3 separate regions of the Homo sapiens genome follow, and all the other regions are linked to region 1. The links are contacts of gene promoters, found by promoter capture Hi-C in blood cells and fetal thymus (Javierre and others, 2016). All regions are on one chromosome and are shown on one strand. Each heading gives the region's core, a stretch centred on a gene start or on the middle of the fragment in contact. The rest is flanking DNA. Distances are from core to core; before and after follow the strand shown. Region 1 holds the start of CCSER1 (coiled-coil serine rich protein 1). Region 2 overlaps GPRIN3 (GPRIN family member 3). Region 3 overlaps GPRIN3 (GPRIN family member 3).

What was found. Contacts are between HindIII fragments. The CHiCAGO score rates a contact against its expected background, and 5 or more counts as called.
Region 2: a contact is called between a fragment that was not itself captured here and the fragment with the promoter of CCSER1 in region 1, in 1 of 17 cell types (monocytes). The highest score is 5.6, in monocytes.
Region 3: a fragment that was not itself captured here is called in contact with the fragment with the promoter of CCSER1 in region 1 in 1 of 17 cell types (total B cells); the score reaches 5.7 in total B cells.

The regions. Positions count from the first base shown.
Region 1 is chr4:90,124,824-90,129,780 of GRCh38, reverse strand. CCSER1 (coiled-coil serine rich protein 1) reads right to left here and starts at 2,387. Exons shown (of 11, transcript NM_001145065.2): 1 at 1,950-2,387. RefSeq lists silencers at 1,270-1,519, 1,630-1,829. The HindIII fragment of the contact is 6,776 bases long and covers 1-4,053 here.
Region 2 is chr4:89,280,908-89,285,864 of GRCh38, reverse strand. All of the region lies in intron 1 of GPRIN3 (GPRIN family member 3), which reads left to right. Among named protein-coding and RNA genes, the nearest start is that of GPRIN3, 24 kb to the left of the region's middle. The HindIII fragment of the contact is 902 bases long and covers 2,458-3,359 here.
Region 3 is chr4:89,297,120-89,302,076 of GRCh38, reverse strand. All of the region lies in intron 1 of GPRIN3 (GPRIN family member 3), which reads left to right. Among named protein-coding and RNA genes, the nearest start is that of GPRIN3, 8.2 kb to the left of the region's middle. The HindIII fragment of the contact is 1,806 bases long and covers 1,452-3,257 here.

The sequences.
Region 1 (4,957 bases), core at 1,138-3,637:
CAAAATCAAAATATCAAATCCTTAACTCTGCTTTGTTTTTCAAAGAACAGGACTGTTTAGGAAAGCAATAAAACAATACAAACAACAGTTGGTTTGTTTTGATCAAAATAACTAATTAATTTAAATGAAGACAAATCACTCTGACAATAGGTTGACCAACTTCTCTTTTTTCTCTGTGAAACTATTGAAAGTGTGGTTACAACATGGAATTTCAATATTTGAAAAACATTGTCTTGGCAGGCTTTTAGAGACATTTCAGTTTGCAATATTAAGGATACTGTCCTACTACTAAACCCAGTCACAGTTCTATAAAAGTACAGGTTGCTACTTTTAAGAGAAAACATTCATTTTATAAGCACCGTGACAGGCACTGTCCCAAGGCATCTTTAAGTTTCAAGTTACGTATCTGGAACATGTACCTGTTATAAAGCAAACAGAAAGAGAAACCAAGACAAATTATATTATAGCCTAGATTACCAGTATTTTAGGTCTTCCCTTAATAACCAGTTTTGAAGGAACCAGTGATAACTGACCCCCACCTAGGTGTCCTCTTATCCGTTTTCCCTAAGGCTGTTAATAAAACCAGCTTTACTTTAAACGTGTACACATTATTTTTAATAGTCCTTGAGGGGCAGAGAAGGGAGGATGTGTGTTACATTTCAATAGGAAGGTATTCAACTGTAAAGATTTCAGAAATGAAAGCTGTTGAAACCAAGTAGGTATTTTCTGACTTGTAAGTCCTACTGACTGCCTGAAAAGGTAAGAGGGGTGGAGAAGAGGACATAAAAACATTAAAGGGCAAAGAATCTGTAACTTCTAAGAAGTATTTTTTTCTACCTGTAAAAATATGAGTTTTTTTTTTACTTCATTTCATATTCCATGTCCCACGAGAGGAAGGGGAAGCATAATTGCTTCTAATTCTGAGGCAGGGAGAGGAGAGAGAGAGAGAGAGAAAGAGAGCAGTTCAGGATACACTAAAAGGAAACCCCAAGAAATTTCACAACTCTTTGCCATAAATAGCCTTTCTTCTCACTCTGGATACCTCCTCCTTTACATCAGCAAGGCTCAGCCTCCACGCACGCAGAAGCACCATTCACAAATCCCTCCGTCACCCTTACCCCTTGCTGGCACCGTGTGTACGAGTCCCTGGGACACAAGCCAAAAGTCGAAGGGGCCAGGGGGCCACATGCGGTTTCAGCTTACGGCTGACTTTCTGCTCAGGTGAACCAACCCACTGGTTAGTCCAGAGCGCGCGCGCGCGCGCACACACACACACACACACACACGCACACAACCTGGGGCCCTTGACGCTCCACCACAAAGCAAGTGGTTCAATCTAAGTCGCTGCCGTTACTGCTGCCTCTGGGCAGGGTCTTGCTTCCAATCCAGGAAACTGGCGCCAGAGGACAAGCAGGCGGAGGCAAGAGGTGGTCCCGGCCCCGCACTGCGGTTCCTCCGGGAGCCCCTGGCTCCCCGCCCCCTCCTCCCCTTCCCCCTCTTCGCCGCCGTCCCCGCCTCAGCACCCGCAGCCCGGGGCGCCAGCGCTGACCGGTCGCCTCTACCTGCGGGACGCGAGTGGCGAGGAAGGGGAGCGACCCGAAGCCTGCGCCAACTCTCGCCGCCTTGGCCAGCGCTCCGCATCGCCCTGGAGCGGCCGCCGCGGCCGCAGGCAGCAAACCACGCAGCAGCGTGGAGGAAATGGCCACGCGGCGCACTGGGAGTCGCGGGCCGGTGGTGAGCGAGCCCGCCCGCCTCCTTCCCACCCCGCCCGCAAGGCCAGGTCTCTGCGCCGAGCACGCCGGGCCTGGGCGCGCGCTGCTCGCAGGCGGCCCCGACACGGCGCGGTCACCTGCCGAGCGGTCATCCCCGCGTCCGCCTGCGGCCGGCCCCGCAAAGCGGCGACGCGACGCGCGACCCGCTGAGCGCTGAGGCACCAGGGGCGTTACTACCTTGAGGGCTCCGTGCGCTTGTTAAGGCTCCTCCCGGGCACTCAGGGATTTATGTCTTCGGGGCACGGGGGTGTCCTTCCTGGTCCCCCTCCTCTGCCCTCCCTCCCCTTCTCGGCTGTTGGGCTCCTCTCCACTCCCAGTTGCACAGAGTCCAGCTGCGTTATTTAATAATCCTCCTGCTCCTCCTGCCTGCGCCAGCGGAGCTGCTCTGCCCGAGCCACCGCTTCCCAGTCAGTCATGTTGAGACAGAGAGAGAGAGAGAGGAGAGGCGGATTGGCAGTAGGTCGGCGACTATTTGTGGTGAGGGAGAGAAGAGCAGAGCAAGAGGAGGGCAGGGGAGGGACGTGGGGAGGCGCTTCCAAGTGTGTGAGTGCGCGGAGTGTGACTGTGTGGGGAGCGCGAGATCCACCTCCCCGGCAGGCCGCGCTCCGGGGCTGTGAGGAGGGCGGGCCCAAGCGCGGCCTTTATACAAGGAGGAGTGTGGTGGGCTGGGCGGGGCGGCTTGGAGGGCGGTGCCCGGCCCACTGCGTCCGCCGGATTCCACGCACGCATCCTCTGGCATCGACGCGCGCACACCCACTGCTGGCCCGCTGCTGAGTTTTCATTTTAGGGGAAGCAGTATCCCACCGTGCTGACCTGGCCTTTTCCCCCAGTCCATCCTAGTGCTTATGTGGAGTTCAAGTGCATAGGCAGGTCAAGACTAAAGAATAGGGGAAGTCTGAAGAGACGTGAAGTGACTGCGGGGATGCTGGAAATAAATGCACTGTATTTCTCCTCTCCAAGGTTCCGATGTTATCTTTTTTCTCTTCCTCCTGTAAGGGAAGGAATTACCAGATTCTTTCGCCGCTTTTCCTTCTCACCCACACAATTCACATCCTGACAAGTGTCTTCATTCCTCAGTAACAAGAAAAGAAACCTAGCTTCTTTCCTTTAAGCAGGTCACACCTCCCAGGAACCATTTGCAGCAATCAATTCTGTAAGATAATGCAAGCACTGCGACTGTGTCCGAGAGTGGAACTTGTGTTCCTACAAGGAAGGCCCTACACAATACAGGCATTACAAGAGAATCAGCTCAATTTGACATCATTTGACTGATGGTCCCCTGGAGAAAATTTGCCAGTTTAGAAATCGAAAAGACTTTTGATGCATGGTTCTGTTGCCTACATAATTTATTTTCCCCTGATCCTCTCTCCCCTTGCACTGCCTCATTTCCTTTCAGGTTTACACTAAGTACTGAACTCTTTCCCATCCATCCCCTTCTTTATCTCCACTCCAGTATATTTATGCCTTTAGCAGGCAATACAGCAAATGTAGTGCATTTAATTCTGTGTGTGTGTGTGTGTGTGTGTGCGCGCGCGCATCTGTTTTTAACCCATTCTGGTAGAATGTAGGACCATTTCTAGGTAGAAAATGCATCCCCAATATTAAGTTTGTACGCCTAACATCACCTCCCTTACCTTCTGCCCAGATTACAAGATGTTGTGATCAGGTGCACTGAGGTATTGAGAAAAACTTCCAGAAATCAAGTGATCTACAGTTTTTTCAAGGTGTGTTTGTGTGTGCGCGTGCGCGTGCGCACGCTCTGTGTAATCTAACTGGCTATGATCTAACTTCTGAAATGTGGTTATATTGGGAATAAAAGCAAGATGTATTTTTTAAATGAATCTGAGTGGTCAATGTATATTACAGCATGGGGACAACTCTGCTTTTGGGAGACAATTATAGGAAACATTTTTCATAAATTAGACAAAAGGAAGATAAGATTTAGGAGGCTACGGAGGAGGCGGCAAGGTTGACAATTCAGTTGTCCTATCTTCTTCCATGGCTTGTGACCATCGTACATCTTTAGGGTTTTGTCATATGCTGGCACCTTATATATTCTCCACATATTTTACCCTTTCACATTGATGTTCCTGTCTCGTAATTCTTCAATCTCTCATACAGAGTTTAGCAAACATTAAAAATGATTTAAGCATGTGATCAAGACCTAACAAAGAAGTGATATTAAGGAGTGTGATAAAAACAAAGTGATATTGGAAAGGACAGCAAGTTGGGACAGGTGCGTGAATATATCAATAATATAAGTATATAGGCCATTAAAGCTTCTTTGATTAAGCACTGGAAAAATGAATGGACTAACAAAGCATATTGGGATTGATAGTGTGCCCTATGGGACAGCTATTATTATTTCCTCAATTTTACAGACCAAGAAAGTTAAATTTTGAAAGTGTGTGTAGATAACCTAAGATCATACAAAGAATAAATAATGTCAATGGAACTCAATCTGTCTTATTCTACTGTCCATATCATGTCCCATTCAGAAGGCCTGGCTTACTTAAAAATCTCAGGACTTTCCTTAGAGCTTTTGTTTATGAAATAAGCTGACCTACAATCCTTTGGCATTTTTCTTCTACCTCCCTCCTTCTTTTTACAATGCAAGAGCGATTTATGAAATGTTAATGTTTTTTAGGGCTGGTCAACAATTTAAAAAGTCTTAACATACTTGAACTCATAAATGGAAAAAGAAAACTTTCCTACACAGTCCTTTCTGAAAGAAACCTGGTGTCATTGTAAAACGAAATTTTGTAGAGGAGATATTACTGAACATTTGCATCTAGTGAATACATAGGTGGTTTGAGAGCCGTAAACAGACATTTTAAAAGGTTATGTCCTCCTAAAGGGATGATACTCAATCATATTCAGCAAGTTTGTGGTGTTTTCAGTGTCCTGGTTCTCTATTTAATTGTCATTAATAACAATAATTTGATTATGACTGTATATTGCATACTTCAAAATTATATATTAGACCAGATATTTCAAGGGCATTTTTGGTAACCACAAATGATAGTAATTTTTACACTCTCAGTTCCATTCATAATTACTGAGAACCATGAAAAGCTGTCAATTGCCTTTATTCATTACGGTATTACAGGAAGCCAACATTTCTTGCTTAATTTTCTGACAATTTTTCTTTCCAAATAAAGGCTAGAATTTATATGCACTAGACC
Region 2 (4,957 bases), core at 1,659-4,158, 840 kb after region 1:
TTAGGCAAAAGAATGAGCATTCTAACAAGCTACTTATCCATAGTAATTCCCTCCCAAACACCAGTTCATAAGCCAGTTCTTCTTGGATACACTGATTTACTTTGCATGCCTTTTCCCCATCTCTGTCAGTTTCAGTTTGTTTACAGAAGAATATTTGAGGAGTAATTATGGAGAAAGGAGATAGTAAAATTTGGGAAAAGTAAAAAGAAGTGAATTGGGTGACAGAACAGGAAGTTGAGATATTTGTGATGCAGCCTGAGGTGTCCAACACATTTTCAGAATTAAAATGTCATGTTATAAAGCATGATCTTTTGGTTATTCTATGATTGTGGAGTAGATGGGGTTGTAACCACCTGGGGGTTCTTCCTGCCCACTGCACAAATAAAGACCATGGCATTGCAGTAAAGAAAAAGTTTAATTGATGCGAGGCTGGCCATGCCACATGGTAGACAAAGTTATTACTCAAATCAATCTCATAAAGGCTCATATGTTTAGGGATTTTTCTTTTTTTTTAATTATTATACTTTAAGTTCTAGGGTACATGTGCACAACATGCAGGTTTGTTACCTAGGTATACATGTGCCATGTTGGTTTGCTGCACCCATCATTTACATTAGGTATTTCTCCTAATGTTGTCCCTCCCCCGCCCCCTGACCCCCCAACCGACCCCGCCCTGTGTAGGGTAGGGATTTTTCAAAGGCAGTTTGGGGGAAGGGGTGAGAGTGGCTAGGTGCTTGCTGCTGATTGGTTGGGGTGGAGATGAAATCATAGGGAGTCAAAGCTGTCTGTCCCCTTGAGCTGAGTCACTCCTCTGTGGGGCCACAGGAGCAGTTTGGCAGGACCAAGTGGAGCCAGCAGTGTCAGACATGCAAAAGGCCTGAAAAGATATCTCAAAAGGCCAGTCTACATTGGTGATGTTATTGCAGTAGTAATTGGGGAAGTTGCATATCTTGTGACCAGCCTATTAGCAGAATTCAGGCTCCTCTCCTTCCCCTAGCCTGATGGTCTCATTCTCATTTAAACTATAATCTAAATGTCTTCCAAAGTTAGCTAGGCCTAGGCCTAAGTCCAAGAATAATTAAGGCAGCTTGAAAGCTAAAGGCAAGGAATGGGGAGTTGGGTTGGCTAGATCAGATCTCCCCCACTGCCATAATATTCTCACTGATATAATTTTTGCAAAGGCGATTTCAGGGTGAGAAAAGGGAGCTAGGGAAGGAGCAGTGGACTTGGAAGGTAGACCTGGTGGTGAGTTCCTGTTAGTAAGAAAGCCCAAGTAATTCTACTACCATAATCACTAATATTATTGCTGTTACTACTAGCTAACCTGTGTGCAAAACTCTCTTCTAAGAATGCACAACAATCCTAGAGGAAGGTGTTATTTTCATTCCTGGGTGGCAAGTGTTACAAACCTTAGGCACTGGGGAGTCAACTAATTTGCCTGAGGCCACACAGCTTGTAAGTGGCCAACCAGATGTGAACCTGAATAATCTGATCCTAGAGGCATTGTTAACCACTGTGCCTCTCACACAGTGAAATGTTTCCAGAAGGTAAGGGACAGTAATTCTGAATGGCTGGCAGTCCTCCAGCATGTGGTCTTCAGCCTCCTGTCTCTGTTCATGCCGTTCATTTGCTTTAGTGGCCTCTTCCACCCACCCATTCCTTCACCTGGCTGACTCCCCATCCTTCAGGGCATTCTGCCCAGCACACCTTTCCAGAATCCTGCTGAGGCCCTTACCTCACCAGCTTGTGGTGGGTACCCTGTGATACCATCTGTCATAGCGTTTACCTCAACACAGTTGCTTTTCTGCCTTGTCTTAAAACCTTGGATCCTTCCATTCTTTCATCCTTCGCATTCAATCAGAGGGCACAGCTGATTTGACCTCTTCAGTATTTCTAGGTCCATCCTTCCCTCAGTTCCTGCTGCCAGTGCCCTACTTCTCACAGTTTCACTTACAAAGCCCCCCGCAGTTTTACTTTGTCACACCCTTTAGCCCTATATCTTGCATCCGGAGCTGCAGCCATGCCAACTAAATATTGTTCCAGCCCCACCCCACCCTCAACCACTTCCCCAGTAGGCTGCCTGTATATCTATTCATGCTTGTCCATATGCACCTGAAATGCCCTTTCCTCCCCACTGGTGAAGTCCTGCTTAGTTTTCAAGGCAGCATTGCTGTTGCTTACACTCAGAGGCCTTGGGTGGGCCTTCTCTTAGATATGCCAGCATTGTGCACTCATAACACCCTATGCCGAGCTCTACCAAAGGGCTCACCATTATACCGTAGTCCAGTCTCCCTTTATGTTTCTGCCTCCCCCACTAGATATGAACTTCCTGAAGGTGAGGACTGGCAGATTCCACCCACCTTGTGTGTACCATGATCTGTGTGATTACTTACTATGTTCCTGGTATTTTTTTCCTTCCCTGTTTTGCAGCAGATCTCCACTGGTTCCCCGGAAGCTTTCCCTGATTGCAAAAGTTGGAATGAGTCATTCTTTTCTTGTGTTACCATTGAAATCTGTAGCAATGAAATCACCTTTCTGCCCAGTGGATGTGAGCTTCTGAAGGCAGGAATTGAGCCTTTGTGGCTCTCTAGAACCCACCACAGGCCTGGCACATTGTGTATGTTAAACAATTTGGGATAGCCTAAAAAGTAATGTTTAATGTTTGTGCTACATAGGCCTATTGTTCAGCTGCATGAATTGAGTGAATAAGAAAAATAATTACTCTGAAGGCCTGTCTTTACTTCCTCTCATAGCCCTCAATGAAGCAAGGGATTTTACAAACAAAACACTAAAGGCCTTGGCTATCTTTGTTAATATTAATAACAATCGGTCTTTTTAGGCCTGAACGTATGTGCATAGTGTTCTTATCACTTTCAGAAAAACATTCCTCCATTACCATCTGAGGGTAACATAATCGCATGTGTGGCAAGTCATCAAATTAGTGAATTCTTAAAAGTCCAAGTTATTATATCTTTATTAGGCAGATTTCCACAGATTTGTGAGGTCTTCGATGTAGACTCTGAGACTGTGATTCATAGTTCCCATGACAGCAAAGTGGGGATAGCTCTCTGAGCCACCTCGGGCCACGAAGAGGTAGTTTTTAGTGGGTAAAAATCCCATACTTCTGACAAGTGATTTGTCAGATTAATATTCTACACCAGGGTTGTCCAGTCTTTTGGCTTCCCTGGGTCACGCTGGAATAATTGTCTTGGGCAACACATAAAACACACTAACAATAGCTGATCAGCTAAAAAAAAAAAAAAAAAAAAATTGCAAAAAAATCACATATGTTTTAAGAAAGTTTACAGATTTGTGTTGGGCTATGTTCAAAGCTGTCCTGGACTGCATAAGGACAAGCTTGTTCTACACACTTTGGATCCTTCCTTTCCTAATGAGGCTTATAAATCTGTGAGTTTATCCCAATAATAGATGCACACCACTGAAGCAGGTGAGAGATTACAACCCCTTGAGGGTCAAGGTAACAAGGCATGTTGGAAACATTCCTGACTCCCAGTATCTTATTGTTTACAAAGGATATTTCTATTATTTAGATACTCATATGACATTGATTTTTGTTATAAACTACTATTCAAAACAGTAAAATAAATTCAAAGCAAATAATTCATGATTTGAGATAGGATGGACATAATTCTCATCATTGCTAGTGAATATAGTTAACTTCAGTAATAGAAATGGCTATTCTTTTATGTTACAGTAATTTTGTTGGCAATGCATTATACACGAAATAAAAATCACATTTCTTTAGAGGCATGTTAGCATTCACCAAACAATAACTGTACTTCTTTTTCTTCTTGCCAGCACCATGCAGGATACTGAGACTACCAGGCACCCACTCACTCTCTACAGTACTCTTACTAAAGAGACCAAAAAAAAAAAAAAAAGATGACTGCATAGCAATGCATTATAATAAAGACTTTAGAATGCAATGAGACAACAGAGGAAAGACTTGTAATTAAGGGGGAATGGTTTAGGGATGGGAAAGTGCAAGGAAGGCTTCCCATAGAAGAAAATGCTGAGTTGTGTTGAGATTATTAGCAATGCAAGAAAGAGTAGAGAGGGTATTTTAGTTTCCTAGAGTGGCCATAACAAAATACCACAAACTGGGTGGCTTAAAACAACAGAAATGTGTTCTGTCCTTGTTCTGTGGGCTAATCATCTGAGAACAAGGTGTCAGCAGGGTTAGTTCCTTCCAGTGGCTCTAAGGGATAAGTTGTTCCATGTCTGATATAGATTGGATCTGTGTCCCCGCCTAAATCTCATGTTGAAATGTAATCCCCAGTGTTGGAGGTGGGGTCTGGTGGGAGGTGATTGGATCATGGGGCAGATTTCTCATGCATGGTTTAGTACCATCCTCTTAGTGCTGTCTTCACGACAGTGAGTGACTTCTCTGTGAGAAGTGAGATCTGTTTAAAACTATGTGGCAGCTGGGTGCGGTGGCTCACACCTGTAATCCCAGCACTTTGGGGAGCCGAGGTGGGCAGATCACGAGGTCACGAGTTCGAGACCAGCCTGGCCAACATGGCGAAACCCCGTCTCTACTAAAAATACAAAAATTAGCCAGGTGTGGTGGCGGGTGCCTGTAATCCCAGCTACTTGGAAGGCTGAGGCAGGGGAATTGCTTAAACCCAGGAAGTGGAGGTTGCAGTGAGCTGAGTTCACGCTATTGCACTCCAGCCTGGGTGACAAGAGCGAGACTCTATCTAAAAAAAAAAAAACATGAAACTATGTGGGACCTTGCTCTCTGTCTTGCTCCTACTCTGGCTATGTGATGTGCTTATCCCCCCCCTTCACCTTCCAACATGACTGTAAGTTTCCTGAGGCCTCTCCAGAAACATAGCGGATGCCAGCACCACGCTTCCCATAAAGCCTGAAGAACTGTGAGCCAACTCAACCTCTTTTCTTTATAAATTACCCAGTCTCAGCTATTCCTTTATAG
Region 3 (4,957 bases), core at 1,105-3,604, 830 kb after region 1:
GGTGATCTAAGACAAGACAATTTCTTGGCCTTACACACCAGATTCCATTTAAAATTTTTAATTCTTGGATCCTAAATAGCGTGGATACCAAGCCACCTCTAGAAGATTGGTTTAGTCAGGATTCACAGCTTTGTGACACTTACAGAAGCAAGAGAACCCTTAAAAAAATTCTGGAGGCTGGAAGAGTAAAAACTCACAATGTCAGGCATCTCTGGGGACCTCAGCATTGTTGCTAATTCAGTAATGGACAGCTGGAGGACGGAGATATATCTCCAAAGCCCCTTTGACAATCACATTTGCATCTGTTAATTTTCTGGAGGAAAAAAGAGTTACAGAGAATTTTTTTAAAACTTGAATTGCAAATAGTCCATCCAAGTGGGAGATCTGGTTTATGAAGAATAATCAGATGCTTTATGTTAATAGATTCTTGATTGTTTTTCAGAAATCAGTTGTTATTGATTTCTAAATAGCATAAAATTAAAATAAGCATATTGTGTCTATGGGAGACTCTTCTCTTTCTTTATAATGTATAACTTTGGTTTAATGAAATGCCTGAGGGAGTGAAGTGTTTGTGTGAACTATATTTTCTGAGTAATCAGAGCATTTTTTGTTTCAATTCTTGTTGACAGTTTTTCTAAAATGTAATTAGCCTGCAAATATTATCAAGATTTGAACTTTTGCATTGCCTCTGTGTCTTTATTCTGAATTATGACTGTACAGGACAGATATGCTGAATATAACATAGAAGTTTTTCTTGTAGTTCTTCCTTTTGACTCTGTGATATGAATGTGCTTTCTCAGTATACATTTTTTTAAAATTGTTGTTCAAAAATGCAAAAGACATTTGACTCACTGTGAGTTCCACTTTCTTGGAGTTTGATCTTTGCCTTTGCCATTACATCGCTTTGAAATGCTCATTCCTTCACTCTAAATTAGTTTCTCAATCCACTCAAAGCATGGTTTCAAGCTCCATGATTGCAGCAAAACTTTTGTAATTCTTAAGACCTGTTTCTAATTTATTTTATACATAGCATGATTCTTAAATTTATACTTAGTCATATTGTTAATTAAGCATGCCTTTCTTTGAATTTTTCTATAAGGTATTTCTCCTTGAAAAATGCAGGTAAAAATGAAGCAGCTAAAATTGTAATTGTTAATTAAAATTAAGAATTTTAAATTCCAGTAAAAATTTTAGTCAGAGCTAAAGTTAGTAAATGCATGTTCATTTTCACCTGCATCCTTGGTTGGGTAAAAATTGCTTATGACAAAGTGGGTATGGGTGATTGTTCTTGTTTTCATGTCGAACATGTTCTGAAAACAGTCAGAGAGCAGAAGTCTATCATTGTCAGGGTAAGGGGCTGAGCTCTGATTAAGTGAGTGAAAATGCACTTACAGTCTCCTTTCATATGAGGGATTGTCTACCCAAGTGGATTCTCAGAGCAGAAGAAAGCTTTGCTGTGAGCATCTGAGAGACCTGGTACTCTTCACTTTACCTGTCTGGGCCTCAGATTTGGAGATATATGTACCAAATCAGAATTGAAAACTGGCAGTCTGTGGGCCTAGCAGGAAAACTGTGGCCTCCAGGTATTTATTTTTTAATTAAGCCAGTGTTTAAACATCAGATCTATTATAAAAAATGAAGCCCTCACCCACATTCTCTAGGCTGGAGCTGAACAGCAATATATATGCTACTTCATTACTTCGCTGTAGTCCCCACTTCTCAATGTCTCACTGACATTGAGCATTTATATAAGTCACTTGTGCCCAACAGCTTCACTTAGTTGTGTTACTACCCCAAACCTGTAGGTATTGAGTCTGTAAAGTCTGGACTACTTAGGTGTTCCCTAAGTACCATTGAGCTCCAAAATGCTATGACTGTACTCATGAAATTGATGTGTCTACAAAGCAGAAAGGTGATGGCGCCAAATATAGTTAACCCCCATTAACCATGGTGAGGGTCTAAAAATTTTGCAGTATCAAAATTTGTAGAGTCTGTGAAAGTTTAATGAATAAAAATTGAGTTAACGTAGTCTGTTAAAGAATAACGGAGTTTTTCATCTGTGTACTTGCTTGCTTTTTACTGTACGACAAGTGGCAAATGAAAAATATTAGCAGTTTTAACAATAATGTAATTTATTTTTTCTTTACCTTAAAGACCAATGACTGAGATCTCACATTGGATTGCTTTATGTATTTTTAAATGCACCATATCTTTATCTTATGTATAACTTTTTACACATAGACCAAACTTGCATAGCTTCCTGAAAGTCCAGAGTGTATCTCAATCTTTCAAGTGATGCTGCATTTTATTTAGCAGGCCTGGCAGTTGAGATAAACTTTCAGGAGTAGTATCAACTCGTATCCCAGCTTGTGTTTCTGTATAGCCTGGAAATGCTCAGTTAATGATTACAGTAGGCTGTGTTTGCAACCCCTCTCTGAGGCTAGGCAGATCACTGCACAGTCTGGCCACTTGATTGTGTAGAACTGCTCCGTTACTATGGCTAAAAAATGAGGTGACTGCATCAGGGTTGATTTATTCATGTTGCAAATAAAGACAAATGCCCTTTTGGGGCAACAAGATGGAAAACTCAGACAGATCTCTTCGGTAGGGAAAGCTGTCTTCATAGCGCTCTGAAATCTCTCATGCCTTGTCAACTTCTCCTGCCACTTTCCTTCCTCATGCACACTTGCTGCATACCACCCCCACTTCGTGCCTCCTACTTTATTTCTAAAAACATCCCCTCATCTAATTATTAATCCTAAAGTGTCGGTGTTTCAACAGCTTCACTCCGAGAAGACAGTGCCGAGAATAGTACCAATCGAAACTAACAGAGGACACAGTGCCACATTGACTCTATGCTTTCTTTGAAGAGAGTGGCATTTCCTTATAGAATGGTGGCTGTGTTTAAGTATCAAGCGTCCTGTCACCTGAAATGGGTTGATAATATATAAAAGACCATAGGTGTTAAAAGTCTTTAGAGATAAAGTTATTTTTCTGAAAGTGCCATTTAAAACACAAATTTAGTTCACTGAAATGTTTATGCTCTTTTACGAAGAAACTGTTCTGCTATTCCCCTGGTGGCTATTTTGATGTTTAGAACTATAATGATAGGTTTTTAAAAAATCCTCCCTCTGGGGTTTGTGGCTTTTGAGTGATGAAATCTGAGCCTCCGAGAGGGAGGGGAAAAGTTAATAACCTGAGCTGGACTGGATTGAGAGCATGTCAGCTCCTTCTACTTTGCAAATTGAATCAAAGCTTTCCTCCAACTGGAAATAGGAATTTATTTAGGAGGTGAGAGATAGAATGTGAAATGGAGTTGGCAGAAGGCCCTGGTTTAAGAAAGGTGAATTCTTTGGATCATTTAATAAATCTGTATCGAGCACTTGAGATATATATATATACATATATATATATGTATGTATGTAAAACCCTGTTTTGTGTGCTAGGGACTCAAAATTGAATAATACATAGTCTGAACTCTCAAATAATTCCCAGACAACGGGAATAAGCTTAGTAATAAATATAGTTCAACAAAATTAGAATGGGCTCTTTTCCTGGTCATGATCTCAGAGAATTCCCCTGGTAGCCTAACAACCTGGGTCCCTCCTCTGTCCTAACCAAGCAGCCCTGTACCTCTTTCTTCCTTCCTGTATGCTGAGCAATTCAGCTTCATTTCCGTTCCTCTTCACAGCTTCACCACCTGCTTGCCACACCTGGGTTCCTTTCCTCCCTGCCAGGCTAACTTGAAAACTGTATGTCTTTCCCATACTCCACTTCCTTAATGTTGTAGAAAATAAAGTCACAGACACATGCATTTTTGACTTAGTTCTCCTAAAAACAACTAAGAAGCAGAGGGTAGCAGAAGTGACAAAAACGGAACAGATATAAGATGTAGAATTCTTACAAGAGTCTGCTGGTATGTGTACTACGAGAAATTTCTTTCTCATGAGGATACCAGAACCTCAGTGTAACTTCATTTCCATTTTTTTCCTATTTAAGAAAATATCCACACATGCCAGTGAAATGAGTGAGAGTGACATTATTATAGAAATAACTTGATTTTTGAGGTTAATATAATTCATTAGAGAAAACAGCTCTAAATTATACTTTAATAAATAATTTGCTGTCATTGGTACTTTATCATTGCTCATAAATTGTTTGTGATACACAAGTGTATTTTAAGACTGCTTAAGGGCCGCTGTTTTAGATAATTGCTTAGACTCTCAGGAAGCTCTTCCACCCTTGGGGAATGATCTTGAGTCAGATCATTATTGGGGAATGTACCCATTCCAATGGGACTGTAAATACCCAGCTATTTATGTAGCTGCTCTGTGAAATATCCCATGCCTTCTGGCTATCTTTTTATTCTGAGGAGGTGCTCACCACTCTCCATTGGTCTCCCTCTCCAGGGCTTCAACCTTGGAAGTTTAAGTGGTAATTCATGCCTCTGAAATGCCTAGTAAGTGATTCCATCTCTGTGTATTTGCCCTGACTGGGAGGAGAACCTCCTTTGCCTTGGAGCGCAGAGACTGGTGGTGTAGGGGAAATAAAAGAAAAGAGATGGAGCCTCAATTATAGAATTAATGATGATGAGTGGAAAAGAATGAAAGACCAACTAAACACATGCGGGAAGAGGGTTTAAAATTCATTAAAGAATGAACAAGAAACAAAACAAAACAAAACAAAACAAAAAAACACTTGAGGCACTTTGCCATCTTGATTCTAGAGCATAAGAGAACCCTAATACATGTCTCCATATATATCCATCTACTTTCCAAAGGAAATGAGTGAAGGCTAGATTACAGATATGTATAAATCCTTAAAAATTTTATTCTTCAGGCTTATCTGCCAGTGACGTCTTGCTAAAACCACTTCTCCTTTAAAGAAATCTCTGAGGTTTGTACTACTAAATAATAACACATTAATAATTCCCCATTCTAGAGATGAGGAAATAGAT